3 separate regions of the Homo sapiens genome follow, and regions 1 and 3 are each linked to region 2. Evidence: promoter capture Hi-C in 16 types of primary human blood cells and fetal thymus (Javierre and others, 2016). All regions are on one chromosome and are shown on one strand. The core of a region is centred on a gene start or on the middle of the fragment in contact, and the rest is flanking DNA. Distances in the headings are between cores, read along the strand shown. Region 1 holds the start of TMEM60 (transmembrane protein 60). Region 2 holds the start of PTPN12 (protein tyrosine phosphatase non-receptor type 12). Region 3 overlaps CCDC146 (coiled-coil domain containing 146).

Region 1 (4,804 bases), core at 1,545-4,044, 260 kb after region 2:
AAATATCTTTCTTGGTATAATAGTTTTTTTCCTTTTAACAATAGTCTCACTGATTGGTGGTGTATATATGTATTTTTTTAAGCTACTTGTTATCCATTCAATAATCAGGACCACCTAATAAACTTTTGATGTTTTGTGATTATTAGATGCTAAATTTTGGGGGCTATTTCTTATATCACTATTCTGCCTCATTGATCTATATGTTTCTCTTTTGCACTAATACTATATGACTTAGTGTTGCTCTAGGAATGTATTAATATCTGGAAGGCCTAGTATCTACTCGTTGTTCTCTTTTCTAGAATTTTTTTTTTTTTTGAGACGGAGTCTCACTCTTGTCACTCAGGTTGGAGTGCAGTGGCACGATCTCAGGTCACTGCAGCCTCTGCCTCTCGGGTTCAAGTGATCCTCCCACTTAAGTTTCCCAAGTAGCTGGGATTACAAGTGTGCGCCACCACGCCCAGCTAGTTTTTGTATTTTTAGTAGAGATGGGGTTTCACCATGTTGGCCAGGCTGATCTCGAACTCCTGACCTCAAGTGATCCACCCACCTCAGCCTCCCAAAGTGTTGGGATTACAGGTTTGAGCCACCACGCCGGCCTCTTTTCTAGAATATTTTCTATTTTGCCCTTACAGTTTTTCAATGCTAAATTTGCTGATTCTTGAAAACCTAGAATTTTGATTATGAATGCATAAAACTTAGCTTGGGATAGCATTTATTATATTTAATCTTCACATATAGGTTTATGATATGTTCCTCTACTTAAGTTTTTTATACCAACCTTTATGGCCACTTGGAAAAAGGATAAGTAGAATGGGAAATCAGAAGCCAGACTGCATGCAGCTGGGTAAGGAGTTAACAGAAGACCAAGAAATGGAAACAATTGAGAACATTTTATTCCTTTGAGGCATTTGGAGAAGAGAAAAATGAAAGATAGGGTATATGAAACTGAAAGAAGAAATTTTCAGGAAAGGAAGAATTTATGACTATAAACAGAAATAAGCCAATGGGGAATGACACTGAAGATGAGAGAGGATACTTGATGGAAAGAGAAAAAGATCAGAAGGTGCTAGGGATAGGAACAAAAGCATGCGTGGTAGGAGGAAAGATGCAGGAAGATAACAGGGAAAAGGTGAAGGAACTGGCTAATTGAGCCAAATACCCTAGATTAGCGTGCTCAATTATATTTTAGAACTAACTTTGATGTACTGTGCAACATCTCTACTACTTTAAATAGTGGGTGGCTATCACAGTGCAAGAGGACACATCTGTTCTATTTCAACAGTTAAGTATTAGTCTCCTAACTCACCTCTTTTCCCTTATACCCATCTAGTGGCACTTAAACTTGTTTACTTAATTGGCAAAGGCTTCATACTGCAGTAATTTTGCTTCTAAGGAGGCATTTTTCTGTGTTGGTTTCCTTTCCCGGCCAGAGGCTGCCATAGAGTGGGATGTGGGACTGAATTTGGAAGCAGGGTTGGAGGGGTGTGTGTTGATTAATAACCATGGATGGATTTCATCCCGTAAATTGCACAATCCCCACCTCCAATCTATCAGGCCGTTTTTGTGAACCTCTGAAAAACGGTTTATGATTATACACTTGCTTAAACCTAACTGTTCCATCTGCTATCGGATAAGACAAGCTTCATTTTTTTCTTACATTTGGCTGTACTTACCACAGGTGCTTTAGGGCTGGAGGTGAAAGGATGCAAGTAACAATCTTATTGTGCCTACAAGATTTATAATGTGGGATGCAACAAAATTCTGTTATGTTCTTGCACGGAAATACCCTCAATGGGGAAGCACTGCTGATACTTAAATGACGATTGAAGGATTGTACGCCTGTATGCTGAGCTACAACGATGACATACGATCCCAGTTTTACATTTACGTCTTCATCAATTTGAGCAGTCGTTATGTTTCCTACTATTCTCTCCACAAGAAAGGGGGAGGTGCGTACTCCAAAAATGTGCTCAACTAAAATGTTTCCCATTTAAGGTGGTTATTTCTGGCACTAGGAAGACAGTTAAATATTTGTTAATGATTCCTTACTCATTTTTAAAACCTTCGGAGTTACCCCTGTATGGACATATATAGAGCCCCACCCACATAGCCCACGGCTGGGTATCAGCCCCCATTTCCCTTCTCTCGCCACTGCCAGTAGTCTACCAAGTGAACCTGCCTCATCCCAAAGATAATTTTGCTTCATGAGCCCACATATTTATTCTTCTTCATAATGAGTCGCTTTTGAAAAGCCCGTGCAGCAACAGCCTTGGCCAAAGGAACAGCGTTCTGCTTACAACTTAGCTCATCTGGGGGCCTATTTGCCCCTGGAACTTCAGGACGCTCCTAAACTATACTTGCCCTTCTGCAAACACCGACAGTCGGCTCGCGGCGCCCCACCGGGACGCTCCCCTTTCATGGGCTGTAAGCCCAGCACATGCTGGAGTTTAACACGGTTCCTGCTGGATGCGCACAGAAGCCCTGGAGCCAAGCAGGCGTGTGCGCGTTTGGGGCTGGCTGTGTGATGGGTTGAGGGTCGGCCGCACAGCCCACGGAAGCATCAGGAGACCAGCGCCGGCGTACGGTGCGGGCTAGGGCAGAGCCCCAGACTCACCTGGCAGCGCTGCCGGCCGGAAAGCGGAGAGGGACGCGAAGATCAGCAAATTCGCCAGTTTGGATCCTTGTCCTTTTCCGCCCTTTTCCCCCCATTAAATCCAGAACCCGTCACATGATAATTAAGAAAAAACTTCAGTTCCGCCTCCTCAAACGACTGCGGTAGAGGATCTCTCAGTTCTACCTCAGTGCCGCGCCCACATCCGGGGCTGGTTCTCACCGCCCCTGAGCCTACCCTATAGGTAGAGAGGACGCCAATCTGGATTCAGAGGTCCCTTTTCCGCGGTAATTGGACCATTTGTCCGCCAGTGCAAACCAACCGACCTTTCCTTACTTTCGGGTTCGACAGAAAGGCGGCAATAAAAAGACCCATTGGTCCCGCCTCTCTACTGTCACGGGTTAGTAGGGAAGTCAGTCCAAGATCAGCCTGGAGTTTCCGTGCTCCCATTGGGCCCACAGATGTTAATCAGAGCAGCCGGCGCTCAGCTCCGCCCTCTCGGGACGCCCCGCCCCTCCTCCCATCCTCCCTGCCCGCGCGCAGTGACTGCAGGCTCCGGCGCAAAATCCTGCGGGAGAGGGGGTGGGGCAACCCTCTGGAGGCAGCGCGCCCGCGGGCAGCCTCGTTGTGGCTCCTTGGGCTCTGTTGGCGGCGGCGCTAGCTTCGGAGTCTCCCGCGCGCACCTCAGCCGCCTCCTAGCGGCGCGGCGCTCGCTCCTACGGTAAGAGCGGCATCACCTCCGCGCTCGGGTGGGCAGTGTGGAGGTCGTCGAGTTCTGACAGAATTTCGAGGATGGATCGGGACGAGGGAGGAGAGCGGTCGTCGGGATGGAGGTGGGGGCTCCGGGGCCAACGCGTCGCCCTCCGTCGCCGGCGACTTTCCCGGCAGTCTCCCGTACCTGAGGGCCGGGGTCAGCCGCGACCCCTTCTCATCAGTCGGCCGGTGGCGGAGGCTCAGCCGCCTTCCTCCCGAGCTCGCGCGGTCCTCAAGTCTTGATGGTGACGGGCCGAAGCCCAGCGCGCCACCCGCCCCTCGGGCCCCGCTTCCAGGCCCCTGTCCTTTGCTTCCTTCCCTTGGCGCTGTGCTGAGGGGTCGTCGGGTCCTGGAAGGGCGTTCAGGGGTCTCGGGTGGCTAGCCCGGCTGGCGGGGAGATGTCAGCTAGCGGCCGGAGGAGCGGGCTCGGGAGGGGGCGGCGGCTCGCGCGCTGGAGGAGGTGGAAGGAGGGTCGCTGCCCTGCCCCCTCTGAGCAGGCGGCAGTCGAGTTTTCTGATCCCAACACGGCGGAGTGGGTGCTTAAGGCATGGGCCTTAAGGGATAGTTCCCGTCTGGAAACAATACCGTGCTCCATCAGCATGCTTCAGCTTTTCTTATTTTTATCTGCCCAGTGTTGACAGCCAGCATTCTGGTATTGTCCTTCGAGTCATGGCTTTCTAACTCAGCACCTCCTTGTGTAACTTCAGGGATCATTCTGTCACTAATCTGTCACCCTTCTTATTTTTAGCGTGGCGAAAACAAGGAACTGCCTTATACTAACCTGGGCAGTGCAGAATCTGGAACAATTTATTAATCTCAGTGTGTACTTTACATGCCAAGTAATTTTGAAATTCATGGTGAATATTAAATATTTTGTAGTTTTCGGTTGCTTTCTTTGTTAATAGTATATCCTCCTTGCTTTGAGACTACTTTTCAGGTGTGATACTTTAATCTTAAGGTTTTTGGTTAGCTTTTGCCATTTTTAAACGTTTCTTTCATTTTTTTTTTCTCCAAGACTTTGGCAAGAGACTTAGTATTTGATCTTGTTTTCAGGTATTTTTGTAAAGTTTATTTTCTTTCAAACTGGGCTTTTTTCACCATATTTTTAATATTGGAAGGGGAATTCTGAAAGTCTGGAAACTGCACACTTTAGCCTAAAGAGTCACAAAACAGTATAACAATTTGAAATCCTAACTTGGATATGGTGTATGGACTGCAAATTTTAAGAGAAGGAAATGGATATGCGTTATCAGTTGTAGTGGCTCCACCTCCATAACGTAGAGGAGAGGAATCTGGAGGTCTGCGGAGAATGAGCCATGTCTGGGGCCAGAAACAGTGGTTCCAGGAAATATTTTTGCCCCAGAAATAGCCTGCCTCCCACACAGACTGGCTGTCTGAATGCATCTGATAGTTTTAAGTTAGGTGTTAGTGAGGTGGAGA
Region 2 (4,214 bases), core at 1,186-3,685:
TGCAACCTCCGCCTCCTGGGTTCAAGCAATTCTCCTGCCTCAGCCTCCTGACTAGCTGGGATTACAGGCATGCGTCACCACGCCCGGCTAATTTTTTGTATTTTTAGTAAAGACGGGGTTGGTTTCACCATATTGGCCAGGCTGGTCTTGAACTCCTGACCTCAGGTGATCCGCCCGCCTCGGCCTCCCAAAGGGTTGGGATTACAGGTGTGAACCATCGCGCCTGGCCTTTTTATTTTTATTTTTTGAGACAGACTCTCGCTCTTTCACCCAGGCTGGAGTGTGGTGGCACGACCTCGGCTCACTGCAATCTCCGCCTCTCAGGTTCAGGCGATTCTTCTGCCTCAGCCTCTGGAGTACCTGGGACTACAGGCGTGCACCACCACACCCGGCTTTGTATTTTTAGCAGAGACAGGGTTTCACCATATCGGCCAGGTTGGTCTCGAACTCCTGACCTCAAGTGATCCACCCAACTCGGCCTCCCGAAGTGCTAGGATTACAGGTGTGAGCCACTGCACCTGGTCTGAAGTGCATATTTCTGGAGTGGATGTATTAGTTGGATTATTTTAACAGAAATATTTTCCTTTTTTTGAAGAAGTAAATAAACTATATCCTGTTACACCTATTTTCTTTTCTTTTTTTTTTTTTTGAGACAGGGCCTCACTCCCGTCGCCCAGGTTGGGGTGCAATGGTGTGATCACAGCTCACTGCAACCTCCGCCTCCCGGGTTCAGGTGATCCTCCCATCTCGGCCTCCCAAAGTGCTGGGATTACAGGCGTGAGCCACCGCGCCCGGCCTACACCTATTTTCTTCAATGAGTTTTTCACTAAATTCCATAGTGCTCCTAACTTTCATCTGAGAAAGTATTCTACCACTGATATTTCCTATTATAACCAAATTCGCTGACCAATCTGCTCTGTAAAAAAAGGTTTGTGGGTATAAATGACGAAAGTCAGTTCATGGATCAAATCCTTCAGTTCTGTCACATTGTGAGAGGCCACTGTTGTGAAAGTAAAATAACTTCTAGTTACGGCTCTGCTAAGAATACGCTGGGGGATGTCAGGAAGTCGCTTTATTTGTAAAATGATGAGTTAGACCAGAATATATTCTCTGATAGAAGTTTACAAAGATGAATAAAGATTTATAGGCTAGGCGCGGTGGCTCACGCCTAAAATCCCAACACTTTCGGAAGCTGAGGATCCCTAGTGCACAGGAATTCGAGATCAGCCTGGGCAACCTGGTGAGACCCCCTTCTCTACCAAAAATAAATAAATAAATAAATAATAAATTTTTAAAATGTATTAGCTGGGCTTGGTGACGTAGTGAGGCAGGAGGATGCCTTGAGCCCAGGAGTTCAAGGCTGCAGCGAGCCGTGATCATAGCACTGCACTTTGGCATGGGAGATAGAGCAAGACCTTAGCTCTAAAAAAAAAAAAAAAAAAAAATTAATAGATTTATAAAGTCCATTCTATGGAGGAAAGTCTCTTATTCAGTTATGAACTGCTGCGAACCTAAAGGCAGGAAGGCAAATTCCCTTCAGTTCGGCAAACACGAAGACCCCACATTCGCGTCGTCTGTGAAGAAGGCACTCCGAACCTCAGGCGCTCACTCGCCAGGTTTAAGAGGATGAGCAAAGAATAAAAGTCCTCTCACCCAGGAAGCGTTTCGCTTCCCTTAGCTGGAGCCACGCTCCAAGGTGCCAAAGCCTAATTGCTGTCCACTCTCACCAATCCGTTAGCAAGATGAGCATCTACCTGCTGCGAACGTGGCGGTGACACTACTACAGCTCCCAGCCTGCCTCCCGCCCGCCCCCACTCCTGGACTCCACAGACCGTGACTTGTAGTCCCAGCCCACGGCTGGCGGCGGTGCGGGACTCCTGAAAACTGCTTTTCCTCCCTAGTAGGCGGTGAGACCGCAAATTCCATCAGAATCCTACTCTGACCCACTAGGGCTTGGCCCGCTCAGAGTCGCATTCCCTCCTCCAAATGAACCAACTCTCCTCCCAGCGATACTCCGACCTCTGAGCACCCCGGGCGGGGCCACGCCCCGGAAATGGAGTCAGGTCTCCAGGCCGCCCGCTGAAGTGCCTTCCAGCCACTCCAAGCGGGGCTGGGGCCGGCGGGGCGGGCTTGGGGGCGTGGCCGGGAGGCGGGCGGGGATGCATCTGCGGGCGCAGCGCTTGGGGCGGAGCCGCAGCGCGAGGCCGCGCATCTGGGTGGCGGCGGGGACGCGCCCGTGGGGAGAGGCGGCTGCGGCTGCGGCTGCGGCTGCTGGCGGGGGGTGGGGGGGAGGAGGAACCGGGAAGGGGGGGCAGGGCGAGCGGAGAGCTAGCTGTGTTCCTGAGGCGGCGGCGGCGGCGGCGGCGGCGGCGGCGTCTCCGACGGAGGAGGAGGGCGGGGAAGGAGGATGGAGCAAGCTGGGGGTTGGGGTTGGCGCTAGCGCAGCGGCTCGCCTGGTACTGTGGGAGAGCGGCGGCTGCTCCTGGAAGTTGTGGTGTCGGGAGCCCAGCCGGTGCCGCCGCAGCCGCCGCCTAGGGCGGTGGGGAGGAGGAGGGAGCCGCGGGGCTTGGCGGGGTCGGGAGGGAGGGACGTGCTGGGGGAACGAGCTGGGGAAGACGGAGCGGGCTCTGTGCCGGGCGGGCGGGCGGCGGGGGGGCCAGCGACCGCAGCCGGGGGGACGCGGGAGGATGGAGCAAGTGGAGATCCTGAGGAAATTCATCCAGAGGGTCCAGGCCATGAAGAGTCCTGACCACAATGGGGAGGACAACTTCGCCCGGGACTTCATGGTGAGTCTCTCCCCTCGCTGTCGCGTTTTCTTGCCGGCGCCGGAGCCCATCGCCGCCTCTCCCGGCCGGGCCGCCAGTGCTTTGTGTACCTCTGTGAGGAGAGGGGCGGAGGGGGCGCGCACCAGCCGGGTGAGCCGGGTGGTCTCGGAGGCCAGCGGGAGGCGAGAGCGCCTCCCCCCGTGGCCTCCTTTCTTCTCCCATGTTCGCGACCCCCGCGCGGGTTCCCGGGACGCGAAGGGAGCGGCCGCGCGGCCGAGCCCGCAGCCTGCACCGTGGCTCGCGACCACCTATTGTTTACCGGGCCGGGAGCCGTAGGCAAGTGAGGTGCAGGCCGGGGGGGGGGGCTCGCGTTTCCACACCTCCCCGCGCAGTTCGCTCCTCCCAGGAGGGTCGAGGCAAGGTATCTGGCTGTGACCGGGAGGAGTGCAGATCGTGGCTGACAGAGGAACGGGGGTATTGAGGTTGGCACTAACTCCTGGGATCCCTTTGCTCTAGCTGGTCTCAAAGCGGGCAGGGTAGGACTTAGGCCGTTTCTGGGGTCGCAGTCATGATCTCCAACGCTTGGGAAAGGATTGCCCATAAGGAATCTCATGGGTTTACCTAATTTCCATTTACCCGCGTCCCGCTTCTCCTCTCCTGAGGCCCAGGTTTGAGGTGGTCTTGGGGTCCGTGTGACTATAGGTTCAGGGGATAAGTGTGGGTGGGGGAATTATCCTGAAGGAAGCCAGCCGACTTCGGACTCCCCAGGGGATATTGCCGAAGGCGGAGGGGATGTGACTATCACTTCCTATCCGGGGTGGGGGTGGGGAACTTGGGAACAATAGTCCTGGTGGGGCGGAGGCGACGCTACGGGCCGAAGCCCTGAACTGGGAGATAACCTTCCCAGCGCCCCCCCGCCTCCGCCACCCCCTACTTTCCGCCCTCTGCTTGTGCAGGCAGTCTTGAGAGGAGGTGAAGGTTAAAAGTCTTGTTCATGAAATTGCTCTAGATACACTATTGCTTTAGCACACTGTGAGGGGGTCAGATCCGAAGGCGTGAGACCAGAAGTCGACTTCCTACGTTACCCACCCCCCCAACCCCCGCCCTTTTTATTTTTCTGCTGGACAATGTTCCCTCTAGGGTTGTTTCCCGGCTTAGGAGGCGGTGGTTGCGGCTGCTGCTCCTACGGATATTGCGCAAGACTGGGGCGTTGGAAACCCTGTAGGTCTGGGGAATGAAAAAGGAAGTGGGACTTTGGGAAGTGGTTGCTCCTTAGTCTTGGCGGGGGTTGGGAATGGGAAATAAGCTGGGGAAAATTTTTATCTTGGGTAAGGTACACCTCGAAGAATAATCACTTAATTCTGAAATCTGATTATGAGAAGGATACACAGTTAATGCCTGTAAAATGAATGGGCAGCAAACATTGGCTAGTTTTTATTTTTTGTTTAA
Region 3 (4,636 bases), core at 1,468-3,967, 270 kb before region 2:
TTTGTTTTTGTCTCTTTCTTTTTAGAAACTTTCCTCCAATATATGGTAATTCTTGGCTATCTGCTTATATTTAAGCATGGGCTGCTATAAATCTAATTGGAAGCTGTCTGTGATGGTGAGGCTTGTCACTGTAGTTTGATCTGACTGGACACAAAATATGTGAGGCATGGCCTTTGACCGAAGAGGAGTTTGCAGTGGAATGCGCACAAGTTGTTCAGATTTTAACAAATATTATAAAAGCTATTTATATTATGACACTACTAGCTATTAAGTCCACAAAATAGCACCCATTGAATATAAAACTAAGCACCCATAGAATATAAAACTAACAGAAATTAAAGTGTATTAGAATCCTTTTCCTTTGTTGATTTTAAGAAAAATCTGGTTTTGTTCTAGTACAGTTTCAGTGAGAGACTAACTTCCTCTTTGACCCTGTGATTTATAATTAGCCCAGCCACTGCCCACAGCTGGCAGTACTTGAAAACAGGAGTGGGTCAGGCCAGGCACTCCCAGCCCAAGTGAACATTTTTTCAGACTTGCATGCAATCCAAAACTAAAAGAGATAAAAGGTAAACATGAAGAGCTCTAGCTATTCTTCAGAATGTATTTCCCCCCAGAGACAGTTGTTTGATTCTCCTATGGCGTTTGACTTGTACATAGAGACTCTCCCAGAAACTCAAGGTACAAGCCTCATGAAAGGTTGGAATGCTTTAGAAAAATATCAAAGTGTTAAGCTGAGGTTCACTGATATCAAATAATTGGGATATTTACAGCAACAAGTAATGTCTAATTTCTTAACTTTTATGAAAGTTACCGATGATTATTCATGCATTGAAAATGCCTGGAAGAACAGACACCAAAACTATTAATAGTGACTCCTGGGGAGTAGTACTTGAAGCAGCAGAGGTAGGAAGCAGATTTTTTTTTTTTTTTTACTTTACACATTTCTGTTGTTTGGTCACAATCACAATAAATACATTTTTAAATGTGAAATGCTACACTATAAAAACTAAAAGAACTATCATAAGCTTACAAAACCTGATATATGCAGTTTGGGGCTCAAAAGAAATGGAAAATATCTCAAGTAACTCCAGACCATGTAGTTAGAACTTTGATACTTGATAGTTATTTTCCTCCCACATTAATGGAGACTTCAGTCTAACTCCAGCCTATTTTCCAGATTACCTTGGGAAGGTTTCCTTTCAAGAGAAACACCTATTAGGTTAGGTTTGCAATTTGGCCTCAATGAGTAATAGAAACTCAACTATAATGATTTTGCTAAATAGGGAGTTGTTTTACTCACTTAATAAAAAGAGCACAGGTAGGCACAACCGGTTATTTCACATAATGAAAAGTCTAGGATCCTTTTAGCTCCCCTTTCAGTCAACCTTAGTGTGTACATTGTTTCTCCATGGTCAGAAAATGGCTATTCCACCTTAAGCATAAACTGGCAAAAGGAGGAGGAAGGGCAACGAGCAAAAGACATAAATGATTGCTGGCTTGGCCAGCTCCTTTTAACAGGAAAACAGCCACTTTCCCAGGACCCCTCCTCACAGACTTCCACTTACATTTCATTGGCTTGTCTTAGCTCATATGGGCACCCCCAGCTGCAAAGAAGTGTGAGGACTCCTGGATACATTGCAGCTCTGGAAAAAAAAAAAAAAAAACAGCATTCTGTTGCTGTCGTGGTTAATACTAAATGTCAATTTGATTGGCTTGAAGGATACAAAGTATTGATCCTGGGTGTGTCTGTGAAGGTGTTGCCAAAGGAGATGAACCTTTGAGTCAGTGGGCTGGGGAAAGCAGACCCACCCTTAATCTGGGTGGGCACAATCTAATCAGCTGCCGGTGTGGCTAGACTATAAACAGGCAGAAAAATGTGAATGAGAGACCGGCCTAGCCTCCCAGCCTACATCTTTCTCCCGTGCTGGACCCTTCCTGCCCTCGAACATCGGACTCCAAGTTTCTTCAGTTTTGGGACTCAGACTGGCTTTCCTTCCTCCTCAGCTTGCAGATGGCCTATTGTGGGACCCTGTGATCCTGTGAGTTAATACTTAATAAACTCCCCTTTTTATTTTATATATATATATATACACACACACTAATAGGAGATATATATATATATATATATATATATATATATATATATATATATATATATATATATGGAGATACAAAGAACCCTGACTAATAGAGTTGCTAAGATCAAGGTGGAGGGTAGCTATTGGCTAGGCAACCAGGAGGCTCTGCTACCAATGGCTTATCATGTCACCTCTTCCACAAGCCAAGCCTACCTAATTCCTGCCTGAAACTAGAGAGCTGGGCTTTACAGAGAATTTAAAATGGTATCAGAGAAGCAGTAGCCAGAGTTCAAAAATGAATACAATTTATTGAAGTATTGTTTGTGTTTCAAAATATTGGAAATAACCAAAGTGTCTAGACCTCAAGCCAGAAAAATCTGTCGAGAGCCTTTAGTTGACATAGTAGCTAGTGAGTGTGTTCTCATCATATTTTCTGTCGAAACCTCATAAGGGTTCCTGGGCCCTGTTATTCACGTTTACATCTGCCGACACCCGGGAGCTGAGCATGAGGACAGCCCACTCCAGGCACACCTGTAGCAGAGAATCAGACAGGGACCCAGGATGTTTGCTGGAGTTCCTCTATCCAGGAGGTCTTAACTTGACTTTCCTAAAGGAGAAATCAACACTTCCTTGATGAATATTCACATCTTCCAGGAAGGCTTTCCCAATTATTCAATTCTATACTGAGTTCTCCCTTTTCTGATCTGCTATAGCAATTTTATGTTTGTTAAGCCCACAACATTCTGTATATTGTCAGACATGTTTCACAAGACCACATCTCGTTTTCCTAAGTCCAGTGTGTGCATCTCAAGAGCTAGTGCTCCAGGGTAGGAGACCCAATGGAAAAGCAGGACATGGACACCTGAGGGTACAGAAGGTGCTACTGAAGATACCCTGATTCATGGATGATGGGGCATCCAAAGACACACTTTAGTGACTTTAACATAGCAGCATGATCCTCAAAAAGATCCTGTTAAGTAACCTTCAAATCACTAGACAGTGTGATATTCCTTTCTTGGGTCTAAATTTTGGCCATTATTCAACCTTAGGGCCTACAAGTGTGTGCTGTCACAGTAGGAACTGAACCACATCAGATTGGAGTCATGAGCTTTTGGTGTAAATAGCCAACTCTAAACTTGCTCTAAGTCAAGTAGGCTGGAAGCACCCCAAGATGACCCTCCCTGTAGCCTTGAATGGTACCCTTTCCCCATCAGCTGCCACATGTCCTCCTCTCTACTCTCGTCTTCATCACAAAGAATCTGACAAGCTCATTCCTAATAGGGCAACAAAGACTTAAAGAGTGAGATTTGCCTTTTCCCTAAAGTACGTCAACACAGGAGAAAAGTGCAAGCCGTTACAACAGAAATGTAATGGTGAAATTTTAGGTATCAACCAAAAAGTTGAGGCTTTTCTTTTGTGTAAGAAATTTCCAGCTACTAATCAAATGACTATATATAAGTAGCAAACTATCCCCACTATTATTAATAAATTACATATTTTTCTTTATCCTATACAATTTCATAAATGTACTCACATTTTATAATAACTATAATTTGAATAGTCATAGTATATTCATGTCTCCAAAGTGCTGGGTCATGAGTTAGATGAGTTAGGCAGATCATGGGTTCCAAGTCTACCTCCCTGGGTTTACACCTGCACCATTGAGGCAAGTTGCTTAAATGTGTTTGTGCCTCATTCTCTTCATCTGTACAATTGGAGAAAATATTCCCCACCTCATGAGGGGTATTGTAATGATGAAATAAGATCGTATACACAGGCATTTAGAACCTTGCTGGACACTTGGTTTATGTTCAATAAATGTTAGCTATTAGTAAGATTTATTTCTAAATAATAAACATTTGCAGCTGGCAAATTATAGATTTTTGGCAGGTCTTCATATTTTAATTTGCCATGGCTTATAAAGAATATTTGGCATAAAGGGAAGTTCTTATAAGATTGAGATTCGTGATTTGCTCAGCATTTTCAAAAAGTGTGTGATGAGGTTGACTACACAGCAGTGAATTTTATTTATTTATTTATTTATTTATTTATTTTCAGACAGAGTCTCACTCTGTCACCCAGGCTGGAGTGCAGTGGCACGATCTCAGCTCACTGCAACTTCTGCCTCCCGGGTTCAAGCAATTCTCTGCCTCAGCCTCCCAAAGATTTATTTCTTACATAAATGCATGTTTTTAAATTTTGATTTCCAGATGGAAGCTATCCCCAAAGATGATTCTACATTATCTGAGAGAAGGCGAGAGCTTCACAAGGAAGTTGAAGTAGCTAAGAGGAATTTGGCCCAACAGGTTAATATCAATGCTCATTTAAGCTTCTATCTAAGAAGCGTTCATACAAAGTTGTGCTTTTAACTGTGCTCCACAAAACCTTATCAATAAGAGAGTCATCAAAGAGAGTATGATCCTGCTTCATGTGGGCATATTTCTTCATCTCAAAGTCCACTCCAATCCTACACTAAATTTGAGAAAAAAGAATATGTTTGAACCGCAAAAAGTATTCAAAGGAATGAGATTTTTAAATTATGGGCTGTTGATTAC

What was found. The method cuts DNA at HindIII sites, captures the fragments that hold promoters and counts their contacts. A CHiCAGO score of 5 or more calls a contact.
Region 1: the fragment with the promoter of TMEM60 here is called in contact with the fragment with the promoter of PTPN12 in region 2 in 14 of 17 cell types (fetal thymus, neutrophils, non-activated CD4 T cells and 11 more); the score reaches 20.7 in fetal thymus.
Region 3: a fragment that was not itself captured here is called in contact with the fragment with the promoter of PTPN12 in region 2 in 9 of 17 cell types (monocytes, total CD8 T cells, total CD4 T cells and 6 more); the score reaches 11.9 in monocytes.

The regions. Positions count from the first base shown.
Region 1 is chr7:77,795,640-77,800,443 of GRCh38, forward strand. It overlaps TMEM60 (transmembrane protein 60), which reads right to left and starts at 2,795. Exons shown (of 2, transcript NM_032936.4): 1 at 2,615-2,795. It overlaps PHTF2 (putative homeodomain transcription factor 2), which reads left to right and starts at 3,134. Exons shown (of 19, transcript NM_001395272.1): 1 at 3,134-3,332. RefSeq lists an enhancer at 2,555-2,664 and a silencer at 3,075-3,214. The HindIII fragment of the contact is 8,213 bases long and covers 1,639-4,804 here.
Region 2 is chr7:77,534,860-77,539,073 of GRCh38, forward strand. It overlaps PTPN12 (protein tyrosine phosphatase non-receptor type 12), which reads left to right and starts at 2,436. Exons shown (of 18, transcript NM_002835.4): 1 at 2,436-2,786. The coding sequence starts at 2,688. LOC124901681 (a long non-coding RNA gene) reads right to left here and starts at 2,090. Exons shown (of 3, transcript XR_007060395.1): 1 at 1,512-2,090; 2 at 1-1,422. RefSeq lists enhancers at 1,516-1,565, 1,736-1,955 and silencers at 2,026-2,325, 2,576-2,785, 2,926-2,975. The HindIII fragment of the contact is 6,799 bases long and covers 1-4,214 here.
Region 3 is chr7:77,269,403-77,274,038 of GRCh38, forward strand. CCDC146 (coiled-coil domain containing 146) reads left to right here. Exons shown (of 19, transcript NM_020879.3): 10 at 4,292-4,387. The region is part of intron 2 of LOC102723791 (a long non-coding RNA gene); the gene reads right to left. Among named protein-coding and RNA genes, the nearest start is that of CCDC146-AS1, 23 kb to the left of the region's middle. RefSeq lists a silencer at 2,192-2,374. The HindIII fragment of the contact is 3,382 bases long and covers 1,027-4,408 here.